Linked DNA regions of Homo sapiens: regions 2 and 3 are each linked to region 1. Evidence: promoter capture Hi-C in human tissues and cell types (Jung and others, 2019). All regions are on one chromosome and are shown on one strand. Each heading gives the region's core, a stretch centred on a gene start or on the middle of the fragment in contact. The rest is flanking DNA. Distances are from core to core; before and after follow the strand shown. Region 1 holds the start of GID8 (GID complex subunit 8 homolog). Region 2 has its middle 17 kb from the start of LINC01749. Region 3 overlaps TCFL5 (transcription factor like 5).

Region 1 (2,617 bases), core at 65-2,564:
GCTGAAAACATGAATTAGTGAAATAAGGGGCGGGGGGGGCGGTGCTGGGGCACAGGGATATTTAAAGCCAAGAATTCAGCAAAGACCATAGGAAGAGCGTAGATAGGGAATGAGAATCGCCATTACTTGGAGGATGCCAACCTTGAAGGTAAAGCAGAGAAAGTGGCACCAGCAGAAGAAAACTTGATGTGGAGCGGCAGGTAAAGTGGAGGAGAAACCAGGAGTCGCTGTCACACACGAACACCCATCTTTCGTTGTCAACTGCAAAACTCACTGAGACCAACTTTTTATTCACGACAATTAATGGTAACTTAAGGACTCATTTTCTTTTTCTTTTTTTTTTGAGACAGAGCCTCGCTCTGTCGCCCAGGCTGGAGGGCAGTGGCGCGATCATGGCTCACCGCAGCCTCGACCTCCTGGGCTCAAGCGATCCTCCCACCTCAGCCTCCAGAGTAACTGGGACAACAGGAGCGCACCACTCTGCCTGGCTAATTTTTTTATTTTTAGCAGAGAAGGGAGTCTCGCTGTTGCCACGGCTGGTCTCGAACTCGCGGGCTCAAGTGATCCGCCCACTTCGACCTCCGCCACCGCGCCCGGCCCTAGGACCAACGTTAAGAGCTCCCTAGGAAAAGGCACCTTTTCTCTCGGCCCATTCGGTGATCGGCACTCACAGCGCTTCCACTCCGGGCAGTTACGTGCGCCCATGAAAAGCAACAACTTTGTAGAACTGGCCAGTCCTGTTAGCAGGAAGAACTCGGTAGTCTCAAACTCCAGCATAAAAAGATTCAGCAGAAGAAAACACCCGTGTGCTGAAGACTCCTACTTTCCATGCCACACTTTACATCCTCACCCGCTCGGTTTCTGCTTTAAAGCAGCAGATTTTATTAAAAAGACTTCGTTACGGACGTCGCTCCTCCACAGAGACAGCTACCGCCGCCCCTCAGGCTGGCCGGGACCGCCCCAGAACACCAGCGCCTGAGGCCGCGCGCCTGGAGGCTGAGCCCTGACTGCCCCCTGGGCACCGGCGCGGGGCGGCCGTCCGGGCCTGGACTCACTGCGCGCCCCAATTCCGCACCTGCCAGCGCCGGCGCTTCCAAGGCCCCCAGAGCGGGGGCGGCGCGCACCCCGGCCACATCCCGCCTGCCCGCCCGGCCCGGCCCCGGGAGACGCTCGGCCCGGCCGCCCGGGCCCGCCGCCGCCATCTTACCGTGCGGAACCTGCCTCCCGCGCTGCGCGGTCTGGGCGGCTGCGGCTCCGCAGCCTCTCCTGGGCTGGGGAGAGGTGGCGGCCGCCGGGGCGCCCGAGTAGAAGGAGGCAGAGGTGGGGGCCGCGGCGGAGGCGGGGGCGGGGGCGGGGGCGGGGAGCGGGAGGGCAGGCGCACCGGAGGCCGCCCCTCAGCACCTCTCGCGACAGCAAGAGAGCGCGAGAGCGCGAGCCGATGACCAATGAAGCGCCCCCGCGAGGGGGCGGGGCGGACGGCCTCCCGGAAGCGCGGAACCTCAGCTTCCGTACTTGCGCAGAACTCCCCTCGCGGCGACCACGCACTACGGGTTGGCGCCAGAGTCAAAAGGCGTCGGCCCTCTGGCAAGATGGCTGCTGCGGAGGCGTTGGAGCGCGGAAATCTGGAACCGGGATGGCGACGTCTACACTGAGTCGGAGGCGAAGGTCCCAGCTTTTTTCCTGTCGTTTGCGTGAGGCCGCACGGGGTGGGGCGGGGGAAAGGCGCCGGGTGTCCGCGGCCGCCCCTCAGACGGGGAGGGAGTCCCCTCCCGACCGGCGGCCTTCCAGGGCTAGTGTCCCTGAGGTCCAGGGAGAGACGGCTGACCCGAGACCGGGCTGGGCGAGAGCTGTGCTGTCTGCGCGTTGAAGCGAGTTCCCCCGCTTTACTCGAGATGTTGTTGAGCGCGTCCTCACTCGAGGCCAGGTGGGGAATCAGAAGGGCCCTGCCCTCAGGGCGCCTCCCATGGGCTACGCCGAAGGGCGGGACGCGGCCAGGGCGCGCGGGACAAAGGAGACCCCACTTGCTTGCGGGGCGGAGTCCCGGCGGCGGCGCGGGGCAGGGCCGGGGTTACTCGGTGACTGGAGACCCTCCCGGCAGGAGCGCGGGTTGAGGCCGCACTTGGGTATTTGCGCGTTTACTTGCTTATTGCCTGTCCGCTCAGGAGGAATGCGAAGTCTGTCATTGCAGGGTCCCATGTTTCCGTTGCTGGGAAGTACCTTAAAATATTTGATAGAGCCGAAGGAAGAAATAGAGTCCTTGAGGGGCAGCTCCTGATTTCATCTGTGAGGAATTCACGGGACGGCTTCTTTCTGAAGTCAGGGGTGAGGTGGTTTCGTGTGTTTGCTTACAAGCGAGCTGAACAACGTGTAAGCTATGTCGGTCGGTCTACTCAGCGACAGTAAGTCCAGTTCGGCAAATAGGTTGGAGGAGACTGATTTTGGACATTTTCCGTTAATCGAAAGAGCTAAATCTGCAGGTATAAGGTCTTGACAAAATTATGCTTCATATGCAGAGGCAGTACATGCCAGTAATTTTTTCATTTGCAACTACATAACCCTATGGGAAACAGTTATTGGTCTTTATTTAGTTATTTATTTTGAGACGAAGTCTCACTCT
Region 2 (2,617 bases), core at 32-2,531, 130 kb before region 1:
TGCCTCTGCCCACCAACCAGAGCCCGGGCGGCCTCCAGCCCCACCCCACTTCGCCTGGCTCCGCCCTGCAGGCCACGCTCACCACTCCCTTGGCCTTGCCCTCGGATTGCCCTGCTCTCGGGGCCACACGGAAGCCGATACAATGCCCGTGGGGCATGAAGCCCGATGGCCTCCAGGGTAAAATGGCATCCCCGAGATTGGAGGCTCCATCCGAAGCACAGCGTGATCCCCAGTGCAGGCATCCTGGCCCTCAGACGCAAATGGAGCCCGTTCTCTTGCAGGACCTCGGCCCATGCAGGTCAGTGGGGGCCGTGCCGAGGTCCACACCAACACCCGGGGAACGTGGCCTTCGGCCCTCAGAGCCCACGGCCCCAGAGAAGACCCCAGGTTGTGCAGCTCCCTGGAAATAAAGTAGAACAGCCTCACAAAGCTTCATGACCCTGGATTGGACAACGGTTCCCTGGATATGACACCAGAGGCACAGGCAATAAAAGAAAAAACAGACACACTGGACTTCAGGAAAACTTTAAATTATTCACCTTAACAGACAATCTCAGCAGAATCAAAGGCAACCCAGAAAACAGGAGAAAATATTCGCAAATCATATATCTGATAAGGAATGAACATCCAAAATGTACAGAGAACTCCTAAAACTCAATAAGAGCAAAAATCCCAACTCAAAAATGCATGGAGGGCATGGCTAAGTGTTTCTCCAAAAAGACACACACACGGCCAATAGGCACGTGAAACAACATCGCTAACCATGAGGAAAACGCAAATCAGAACCACAGTGCGATGCGCCTCACACCCGCTGGGATGGCTACCGTAAGAAGAAGCTGAAAATAAGAAATGTTGGTGAGGATGTGGAGAAACTGGAACCCTCGTGCACGGCTGGTGGGGGATGTAAAATGGTGCCTCCACTGTGGAAAACAGGATGGCACTCCCTCAAAAAACTCAGAATGGGCCGGACACAGTGGCTCATGCCTGTAATCCCAGCACTTTGGGAGGCCAAGGCAGGCGGATCCCAAGGTCAAGAGTACGAGACCAGCCCAGCCAACATGGTGAAACCCCGTCTCTACTAAAAATACAAAAATTAGCCAGGTGTGGTGGCCGGCACCTGTAATCCCAGCTATTGGGGAGGCTGACAGAGAAGAATCACTTGAACCCAACAGACGGAGGTTGCAGTGAGCCGAGATCGCGCCACTGCACTCCAGCCTGGGTGACAGAGCAAGACTCTGTCTCAAAAAAAACAAAAACAAAAAAACAAAACAAAACAAAACAAAACTCAGAATGACCATGTGATCCGGCCATTCCACGGCTGAGTGCACCCGCAAAAGAACTGAAAGCAGGATCTCAAAGAGACACTTTATACCCATGTTTGCAGCAGCATTGTTCATAATAGCTAAAACATGGAAGCAACCGTATCCATTGAGAGATGAATGAATAGACAGAATGTGTCTATCCACACAATGGAATATTATTCAGCCTTTAAAAAGGAGGGAAATTGTGACGGAGGCTACAACGTGGATGAAGCTTGAGGACATGCTAATGAAATCAGCCAGTCGCAGAGGACAATACTGTAGGTGTCCACTCACACGCGGTCCCAGAGCTGCCACATTTGTAGAGACAGAAAGTAGAAAGGGGAGGCCGGGGGCTGGGGGAGGAGGCGTGGGGAGCTGTTTAATGGGGACAGAGCCTGGGTTTGGGAAGGTGAAAGGCGTTCTGGAGATGGACAGTGGTGATGGCACAACCATGGGAATGTCCTTAGTGTCATTGAACTGTTCATTAAAAATGGCTGAGATGATAAAATTTTATGTGTGTTTTACCACAATAAACAAAACTTGGAGAAAAAAGTAGAACAGCCTTGAGTCCAACCAGCTCGAGACCACACTCCCTCAATCCTGGGGGACACTCCTAATTACACCCCGGAGTGACAGGGAAGGGCCGGGGGCGTCAGGGGGACCCAACTGCAGGAACCCCACATTCAAGCCCACCAGCTCCAAGGCTCACACTAAAAATCCCAGGAATGAGGCAGCCTGGCAAACCTCTGAGCTACTTTCTTATCTTCTTTAAAACGCCCCAGAATGTACTGTTGGGCTTAGAATGGGGATTCTCTCGGGGTCCAGCTGTACATGTAAATACCAAGTGGCTGGGAAGGGGGACAGGGTGGGGCCAAGCACCCCCGGCTCTCTGAGCAGAGAGGACTTTGAGCCTCCTGGGACCGGGGGCAGTGGCGCTCGGGGGCTTCACGCTCTCCCCCATGGAGCACAAGGGGCTTTTGTTTTTGTTTATTTTTTCTGGTCAAGAAATGTGCCTGCTTTTCCCTCTTTTTTCCTTTTCGGGCTGCAGTAAAGGAAAGGCCGAAAGAGCTCCCCCACATCAGGGTGAAGAAGAACACGGACAGGACACGGACATAGACAGGACATGGACACAGACAGGACACGGACATGGACAGGACACGAACACAGACAGGACACGGACATGGACAGGACACGAACACAGGACACGGACATGGACAGGACACGAACACAGACAGGACACAGACATGGACAGGACACAGACATGGACAGGACAAGGACATGGACACAGACACGGACAGGACATGGACATGGACAGG
Region 3 (2,617 bases), core at 47-2,546, 81 kb after region 1:
GTATATAAAGAAAATATTTTTGGGAGGAAATATGTCCAGGTGGTTTGTTGTTGTTGTTTTTTTTTTTCCATTCTGACCTTTAGAAAAAGTAAACAACTTCTTGTTTTCTGTATTCATAGATAACACCTGTTAATTAAAAAGAGGGGCTTTGGATGAGGTCATATTGGTTGCATAGCACTTGGAAAACGTATTTAGTGTGATGATTGATTCTTGTTCAGTTTCGTTGTATAAAATAGGCTTGGGCTTCATGGTCCCTGCTGATGCTGAAAAACTGCATTAGTACATCTCTTTGTGTTTCGGTTCTCTGTGCTGCTTACCCAATAATGTTTATATCTTGGATTGAAAAGGCCAAAACTGTATTCAGCATTAATTGAGATAAGAATACAAAATTAAAAACCACTTTTTTCTTCTTTCGCAAAGAAGCAGCGCTATGCAAACAAGCACTGAAGAGGAATCGGAGTAGAATGCGTCAGTTGGACACAAATGTAGAGCGAAGAGCCCTTGGAGAGATTCAGAATGTGGGCGAAGGTGCCACCGCCACACAAGGCGCTTGGCAGTCCTCGGAGTCCTCACAGGCAAACCTGGGGGAGCAGGCCCAGAGTGGGCCCCAGGGAGGAAGGTCTCAACGTAGGGAGAGGCATAACCGAATGGAAAGAGATAGAAGGTAATACGTGTGACTGCTTGTCAGGCTGACTCATATATGATTACCTTAGTCATACATGGTTATCACAGATGAGTGATCCTTAGCCGTTTCTGCGTTCAGAGGGAATAAAGCAGGTAGGAGCATCGTTAGCTTTCCCAGATGGATCAAGGATCCCCCAGACTATGCCCAGGCTCGCTGGCTCACTAGGAGGACTCCCGGGACTCCGCATGCAGTCACTCTCAGGCTGTGACTTACTATGGAGAAAGGATGCCAGGTGCGATCAGCAAAGGCGCGTGGGGAGAAGGCAGGAGCTGAGGTGCAAGCTTCTAAGAGCGCGCCCTGTGGAGTCAGGCAGGTTGCCCCTCATGCCCCCAGCCATGTGGTCTGAAAACGTGGGTGAGGTGTTGCCAACCAGGAAAGCTCGCTAGAGACCAGGGGCGTGTCACGTAGGCACTGCCCCCATGCATGCAACCACAGTCCAGTCTCCCAGAAGGAAAGCAGTTGTTCAGTGTCAGCCATATCGTTTGCACAGTGTAGGTTCTGGGGGCACTCTTAACTCCCTGAATCTAGGTTTGCAGACTCCACTAAGGGCCAGCCCTGACTGCAGGCCTTTCTGAGGAGAGTGGTCAGGCTGTTTTGGTAACTGCTGCTTACCAGCCAGCTTGAGTTCAGCAAGTTTTGCCTGGTTCTTTTTTTTTTTTTTTTTTTTTGAGACGGAGTCTTGCTCTGTCGCCCAGGCTGGAGTGCAGTGGCGCGATCTCTGCTCACTGGAAGCTCCGCCTCCCGGGTTCATGCCGTTCTCCTGCCTCAGCCTCCTGAGTAGCTGGGACTACAGGCGCCTGCCACCACACCTGGCTAATTTTTTTGTATTTTTTAGTAGAGACGGGGTTTCAGCATGTTAGCCAGGATGGTCTTGATCTCCTGACCTCGTGATCTGCCCGCCTCGGCCTCCCAAAGTGCTGGGATTACAGGTGTGAGCCACCGCTCCTGGCTATTGCCTGGTTCTTTTAAGATTGCTGGGAAGGAAGAGGTTAAAATTGTTATTTAAGTGGTTTTGTCTGTAGATTTTATTTGTGGTATCCTTCTTTGTAGAATTAAGAGTGGTTAATTTTTTTCTATTATAATTGGGTTTTCTTTTCTTTTTCTTTTTTTTTTTTTTTTTTGAGACGGAGTCTTGCTTTGTCACCCAGGCTGGAATAGTGCAGTGGCATGATCTCGGCTCACTGCAACCTCCGCCTCCCAGGTTCAAGCGAGTCTTCTGCCTCAGCCTCCCCAGTAGCTGGGATTACAGGTACCCGCCACTACGCCCAGCTAATTCTTGTACCTTTTAGTAGAGATGAGGTTTCACCATATTGGCCAGGTTGGTCTCGAACTCCTGACCTTGTGATCCGCCTGCCTCGGCCTCCTAAAGTGCTGGGATTACAGGCATGAGCCACCACACCCGGCCTATAATTGGGTTTTCATAGAATATTTCCCTAATCTATAATTAATTAACTACATAATGTATCGAGTACTGGTACTGTGTACCAGTTTCTGCTTTAAGTTCAGGAAATAAATAACAGTGAGTGAGACAAATACTCAGGTTTGAAGCTCCAAGGTTGAATGTTGAGCTAAGGCAATTTATTTATTTATTTATTTTTTTATTTGGTGAGATGGAGATTTACTCTTGTTGCCCAGGCTGGAGTGCAATGGCACGATCTCGGTTCAACGCAACCTTCGCCTCCCAGGTTCAAGCGATTCTCCTGCCTCAGCCTCCTGAGTAGCTGGGATTACAGGCATGCGTCACCACGCCCAGCTAATTTTGTATTTTTAGTACAGGAGGGGTTTCTCCATGTTGGTCAGGCTGGTCTCGAACTCCTCACCTCAGGTGATCCACGTGCCTCGGCCTCCCAAAGTACTGGGATTACAGGCTTGAGCCACTGCGCCTGGCATGGCAATTTCTTTTAAAGGGATCTATTCAAACTTGCTGGGGCA

Evidence for each region. The method cuts DNA at HindIII sites, captures the fragments that hold promoters and counts their contacts. A contact is called where the count stands out against the background at its distance.
Region 2: a contact is called between a fragment that was not itself captured here and the fragment with the promoter of GID8 in region 1, in 3 of the 25 tissues and cell types used here (bladder, dorsolateral prefrontal cortex and lymphoblastoid cells).
Region 3: a contact is called between a fragment that was not itself captured here and the fragment with the promoter of GID8 in region 1, in 6 of the 25 tissues and cell types used here (dorsolateral prefrontal cortex, liver, lymphoblastoid cells and 3 more).

What each region holds. Positions count from the first base shown.
Region 1 is chr20:62,936,844-62,939,460 of GRCh38, reverse strand. It overlaps GID8 (GID complex subunit 8 homolog), which reads right to left and starts at 1,314. Exons shown (of 5, transcript NM_017896.3): 1 at 1,208-1,314. It also overlaps a transcript of DIDO1 not described here. RefSeq lists silencers at 944-1,073, 1,144-1,373, 1,744-1,793, 2,064-2,113 and an enhancer at 580-1,248. The HindIII fragment of the contact is 10,021 bases long and covers 1-2,617 here.
Region 2 is chr20:63,061,981-63,064,597 of GRCh38, reverse strand. No RefSeq gene overlaps it. Among named protein-coding and RNA genes, the nearest start is that of LINC01749, 17 kb to the left of the region's middle. The HindIII fragment of the contact is 3,284 bases long and covers 1-2,617 here.
Region 3 is chr20:62,855,442-62,858,058 of GRCh38, reverse strand. It overlaps TCFL5 (transcription factor like 5), which reads left to right. Exons shown (of 6, transcript NM_006602.4): 4 at 421-664. Among named protein-coding and RNA genes, the nearest start is that of TCFL5, 5.1 kb to the left of the region's middle. The HindIII fragment of the contact is 4,926 bases long and covers 1-2,617 here.